Linked DNA regions of Homo sapiens: region 1 is linked to region 2. The links are contacts of gene promoters, found by promoter capture Hi-C in blood cells and fetal thymus (Javierre and others, 2016). All regions are on one chromosome and are shown on one strand. Each heading gives the region's core, a stretch centred on a gene start or on the middle of the fragment in contact. The rest is flanking DNA. Distances are from core to core; before and after follow the strand shown. Region 1 overlaps PDIA3 (protein disulfide isomerase family A member 3). Region 2 holds the start of ZSCAN29 (zinc finger and SCAN domain containing 29).

What was found. Contacts are between HindIII fragments. The CHiCAGO score rates a contact against its expected background, and 5 or more counts as called.
Region 1: a fragment that was not itself captured here is called in contact with the fragment with the promoter of ZSCAN29 in region 2 in 2 of 17 cell types (erythroblasts and megakaryocytes); the score reaches 6.1 in erythroblasts.

The regions. Positions count from the first base shown.
Region 1 is chr15:43,768,362-43,771,061 of GRCh38, forward strand. It overlaps PDIA3 (protein disulfide isomerase family A member 3), which reads left to right. Exons shown (of 13, transcript NM_005313.5): 9 at 128-236; 10 at 1,157-1,285; 11 at 1,889-1,968; 12 at 2,162-2,219. Among named protein-coding and RNA genes, the nearest start is that of ELL3, 7.3 kb to the right of the region's middle. The HindIII fragment of the contact is 790 bases long and covers 884-1,673 here.
Region 2 is chr15:43,369,642-43,372,341 of GRCh38, forward strand. It overlaps ZSCAN29 (zinc finger and SCAN domain containing 29), which reads right to left and starts at 1,402. Exons shown (of 6, transcript NM_001372080.1): 1 at 917-1,402; 2 at 1-384. The coding sequence starts at 272. It overlaps TUBGCP4 (tubulin gamma complex component 4), which reads left to right and starts at 1,460. Exons shown (of 18, transcript NM_014444.5): 1 at 1,460-1,791. The coding sequence starts at 1,714. RefSeq lists a silencer at 1,101-1,370 and an enhancer at 1,471-1,590. The HindIII fragment of the contact is 4,998 bases long and covers 1-2,700 here.

The sequences.
Region 1 (2,700 bases), core at 29-2,528, 400 kb after region 2:
GAGATGAGAGTCCCCCTTTTTTAGCCTTGAAAAGCTAAAATACATAGTAACTATTCAAAGAAATTGCTGTAATTTTCTCAGCGGTGGGAATAGATTAACAAGCCTTACCCTTGTTTTCCAATTGTAGGCGTGATGGGAAGGCTCTGGAGAGGTTCCTGCAGGATTACTTTGATGGCAATCTGAAGAGATACCTGAAGTCTGAACCTATCCCAGAGAGCAATGATGGGCCTGTGAAGGTGAGGTGCTCACAGCCTCATCAAGCTATGAGCAATTGCCTGTCCTCATTTCTTTGTTCCAAAACTGTGGGGTCTAAATGAAGACTTCGTTGGCCATCTCTTTTTTTTTTTGTCCTTACTCCCGAGTCATAAAATAAGCATTGGCAGGCCAAGCGGTGGCTCATGCCTGTAATCCCAGCACTTTGGGAGGCAAAGGCGGGCACATCACAAGGTCAAGAGTTTGAGACCAGCCTGCCCAACATGGTGAAACCCCGTATCTACTAAAAACACAAAAAAATCAGCCGGGCATGGTGGCGGGCGCCTGTAAGCCCAGCTACTCGGGAGGCTGAGGCAGGAGAATCGCCTGAACCCAGGAAGCAGAGGTTGCAGTGAGTCAAGATTATGCCACTGCACTCCAGCCTGGGCGACAAGAGCGAAACTCCATCTCAAAAAAAAAAAAAGCATTGGCAGGGCTCATAATGCTTGGTAGGGGCAAGCGTGTAAAGCCTGCGTAGAATTTTCTGATGAAATTTATATTGGGCTAAGTTACTCTTGAGGATAGAGCAACCCCTAAGAACAGTGTGTTGCTTTGAATTTTTTATAGGGATGTGGTCTTACTCTGTTGCCTCAGCCTTCTGAGTAGCTTGGACTGCAGGCATGTGCCACCAAGCTTGGCTTGAAATTATTTTAAGGAATGGTTGGGTAGCACTTCTATGTCCTGTAACTTCCTGAACATAGTTTGACAGGTGACAGACATAGGAACGAGTTGGTATCTAGTGAATGACAACATCTTTAATACAATCTGTAAATGTGATTTGGGTTTCCATGACTTATTTTCTGTGGTAACACATCAAATTAGAGAGGGATTGGGTCTAGGAACAAATACAGTTGTGAATTTATTTTTTTATGTTACCAACTAGAGATTCTTCTGTGTTTTCCAGGTAGTGGTAGCAGAGAATTTTGATGAAATAGTGAATAATGAAAATAAAGATGTGCTGATTGAATTTTATGCCCCTTGGTGTGGTCACTGTAAGAACCTGGAGCCCAAGTATAAAGAACTTGGCGAGAAGGTAAGTGTGAACCCTATTCTGAGGATAACATTTGAGCGGGAGCAGTAAGTTTATGTATGTATTCAGCATTGGCTAATTTGGTTGGTTCCTAAGTACTGATAGATTTTTTTCCCAATTACTTGCTGTTTACTCACTTTCTCGTGACTGCCCCCTAGTGCTCCAGCCTGTGCAGTGCCTGAGATACCCACTTTTAACATTCCATTCCTCAGGCTCAATCTAGATAATGGTTAAAAATATCTAAGGACTTCTGAATTTTGGTAATGGCTTACATGAATCCATATGGTCCTTCATCTTAAAACATTTGGCTTAGCCCCTGTAATGTCTTATTCAGACCAGGTAAATTTGAAGGTGGCAATATGTAGAGTCTTAATACAAGAGAAAAAAGGGAAGCTTGTGGAAAGTGAGGTACTACCATCTGCAAACCACTCTTCCCACATGAACAGCAGTTTATCTGCTGGAATTACAGGTGCGCACCACCACACCCGGCTAATTTTTGTATTTTTAGTGTTTGAAGAATGAGATTGTTTTAAGTCTTCAATTGACTAAGTGTCCCTCTGTCACTGAAAACTTGAAATGTAAACATTTAACCTGTTTTATTAACAGCTCAGCAAAGACCCAAATATCGTCATAGCCAAGATGGATGCCACAGCCAATGATGTGCCTTCTCCATATGAAGTCAGAGGGTAAGTGGCTTAAAACTTAACAAAAGTGTCTAGGCAATAGATAGGAATAAAGCTTGTAACCACCAGGAAATCATTACTAGACATAGTTTTCATATTCAGTTGAAGGCAGAACCACTGATTCCTTCTTGGCTTAAGAGTTCTGCAGTATGGGCCCACATAACTGCTTGAAATTAATAAATGTTTCTTTCCCCAGTTTTCCTACCATATACTTCTCTCCAGCCAACAAGAAGCTAAATCCAAAGAAATATGAAGTAAGTGAATTGTCCCATATCCCCACAAATATATACACAGACGTAAACACACAACCTTAAACATAGTTCTTTAATTGGGTTTATTTATTTATTTAATTATTTTTTGAGACGGAGTTTCGCTCTTGTTGCCTGGGCTGGAGTGCAATGGCGTGATCTCGGCTCACCGTTCAAGCGATTCTCCTGCCTCAGCCTCCCGAGTAGCTGGGATTACAGGCATGCGCCACCACCCCGGCTAATTTTGTATTTTTAGTAGAGATGGGGTTTCTCCATGTTGGTTGGGCTGGTCTTGAACTCCTAACCTCAGGTGATCAGCCTGCCTTGGCCTCCCAAAGTGCTGGGATTACAGGCGTGAGCCACCGTGCTAGGCTAATTGGGTTTATTTAACTAAAATCTCTTTAAACTCTCATGGGCAGTATATGTGGCTGCTAATATGCTTTTACAAACTCAGAAGTCTTCCTGTTTGGGTGGGGCAGATCAGGGT
Region 2 (2,700 bases), core at 152-2,651:
GTCACTGCCTCCTCTCCATTTTCTGGACATTGTTCCTGTACCCAATTCTGGATCTCCCCAGGTAAGACGGTCAGGAACTGCTCTAGCACCAACAGTTCTACAATCTGCTCCTTGGTGCGCACCTCCGGCCTTAGCCACCGACAGCAAAGTTCCCAGAGTTGGCTGAAAGCCTCCCGCGGCCCAGCCACCTCCTGGTAATGGAATCTCCTGAAACGCTGTCGGAAGGTCTCAGAGTTAGTGCCATTCTCTCTTAGAGCTGATTTGGCCATCATTAATAGCAGAATGCAGCTTCCCTTCGCTTAGGAGTCTGGGTTCCAGGGCTTACATCTATCTTCCCATGTCCTTGGAGAATCCCCTGCAGATGACTGTAAGAGGTGTTTCTTCCTAGGGCAGAGAAAGATGGCACTATCAGAAGGAATACATTCATATGTCTAAAGTCTTGCCAGAGCTGGCCTGCCTTTCCATGTGCTCCGAGTGGCCTTCTAAGGTAGCACAATCTTCAGTAAATAGACTTTGCAAAAACTGCTTTTCTGGTTGACTTCCAGGGCAGCCCCAGGAAGCAGCAGAGAATAAAAGTACTGTCTGCCCCTCTCCCACCTCCTCCAAATCCGATCCCATTTAACTTCCCTGGCCAATGTTGCACAGTGAGTCCGAACCATATAGGAGAGCTGGAGTTCGAGAGGATCTAAAGACAAGTCACCATCCTGCTTGAAGGCAACAAAAAGCCTCTGTCCAGCTGGTCGCAGCTGATCTCCCCCAGTATCTCCGCAGTCCTTCCCGAGGCCTTCTGCGTCCGCCCCGCCCCCTCGGGCTGCACAACTCCCAAAGCCCACCCCAGGCAAAAATCACGTCCAGAATCTCGGGTCTTTGTTTTCCCCGCGTAGTAGTAGCCGCTCAGCAAGGATTAGGGAGCTACCTGTCGGAAAACCTCGCGCAAGGAGAGAAGCTGGTTTTGGCTCCAAAGCGAGGACCATGGGGGCTTGGGGAGAGTCACATTGGGCAGGAGAGACGGAATCCGAGGAGCAGTAGTAACGGGCTTCCTGAGGACGGGCTCGGGTGTCGGCCAGAGGCTCCAGGTGCTGCCGGTTCGCGGACGCAGAGCTCTCAGCCCAAGGAGCAGCGGCTGCGGGATTCTGGCCTCTTTTGTCTCCGCTCCCTCCGGCCGGGTAACCCGGAGCCGTCGTGCGGTCCCTCCAGAGGCCTCTGACCCGGCTAAGGCGCCCTGAGGGCGCCCTCCAGCCCACCCCTGGGAGCGTCTCCCTCTCGAGCTGCCCCTCAACCCCCTCGCATCCTTGCCTCCGGGCCAGCCTCACCCACTCGGGGTCCGACCCTGACCCCGGCCCCGGCCCCGGCCCCGGCCCCGGCTCTCCAGCCTCCCAAGTACAGCTCCCAAACCGGAAGTCCGAGCGGGCGGCTCGGGGCACCGAGGGCGCATGCGCGAGGGCAGCGACCGCGACTCAGTCTCCGCAGAGCCCGGGCGGGAGTAGCTGGTGGACCCCGTTGAGCTGCCGAACTTCCGGGACTCCCCCGCGACCCCTTCCCAGCTTCCCGTCCGCTCCGCCGCAGCGATTGTCTCGGTGGGTTGATTCGGCACAAACCGCCCGACCCAGGGGCCGGTGCGCGTGTGGAAGGGGAAGCACTCCCCTCGTGGTCGCCTGGAGGTGCGCTGGAGGAGGGGGTGACATAACCAGGGACTCGAGGTCCGCCGTGGGAATGATCCACGAACTGCTCTTGGCTCTGAGCGGGTACCCTGGGTCCATTTTCACCTGGAACAAGCGGAGTGGCCTGCAGGTACTGTCCGGCGCAGAGCGCGGGAACCAGGGAGCGCAGGAGGGGGGACCTGAGCCAGCGCCTGGGGGAGTAGGCTGAGGGACCTAGCGAGCGGGGCTTCCAGGGCTGGGGGCGTATCCCTGGACAGGTGACTGGAGGGCAGCCCCTTAGGGTCAAGGCTGATGCGACACCTAGAGAGGCCGGGCCTAGGCTAGAAAACGGAGGGCAGACCTCGAAGAGCCCCACCTGTGGCGGGGCGAGGAAAGGGCCTGAGGTCCAGGTGTCTGACAGTTGCTGGGGAATGATATAGAAGTGTGGGAGGCACTTTCTCCTATTTATTTTCACACGTGCATTGTTTGAGTTTTGAAGTACTGGGCCAAATACACAGCTCCCAAACACATGGTAAGCGCTCAGTAAAGTTTGTTGAAGGAAATAAATGAAATCGAGAGCGTGTGGTGTTTCCCTCATTACTCCTTTACCAGAAAATTTCTGCACTAGGTAAAGCACTTGGTAGGGGGCCTTTGTGTAACCAGGAATGTATGATGTTCCGTATGCATTATCTTATTTAATCCTCACAACCACCTTATCCATTTTACAGATTAAGCTAGGTTTAGAATAGTTAAATAACTATCGGGGTCATAGCTAGTAATTAACAGAGCTTAGTTTTGAAGCCAGGTCTGTCTGGCTTCAGTATTTGAACTACTTTTACCTGCTTCTGCTTCCAGTAATGTTATCTAATGCTCTCAATAATTTAGTCCACTTAGGTATTGTTTCTACCAGTTAACAAATGAGCAAACTGAAGCTCAGAAAACTTTATGCTGGCCAGTCCTAGTAGTGGCAAGACTGAAATCTAGGTCCGTCTGATCACCAAGACATGCCGATTCTTAGGAGACTGTGGAAGAGCAGAAAAAGTACATTCTTAGTCTATAA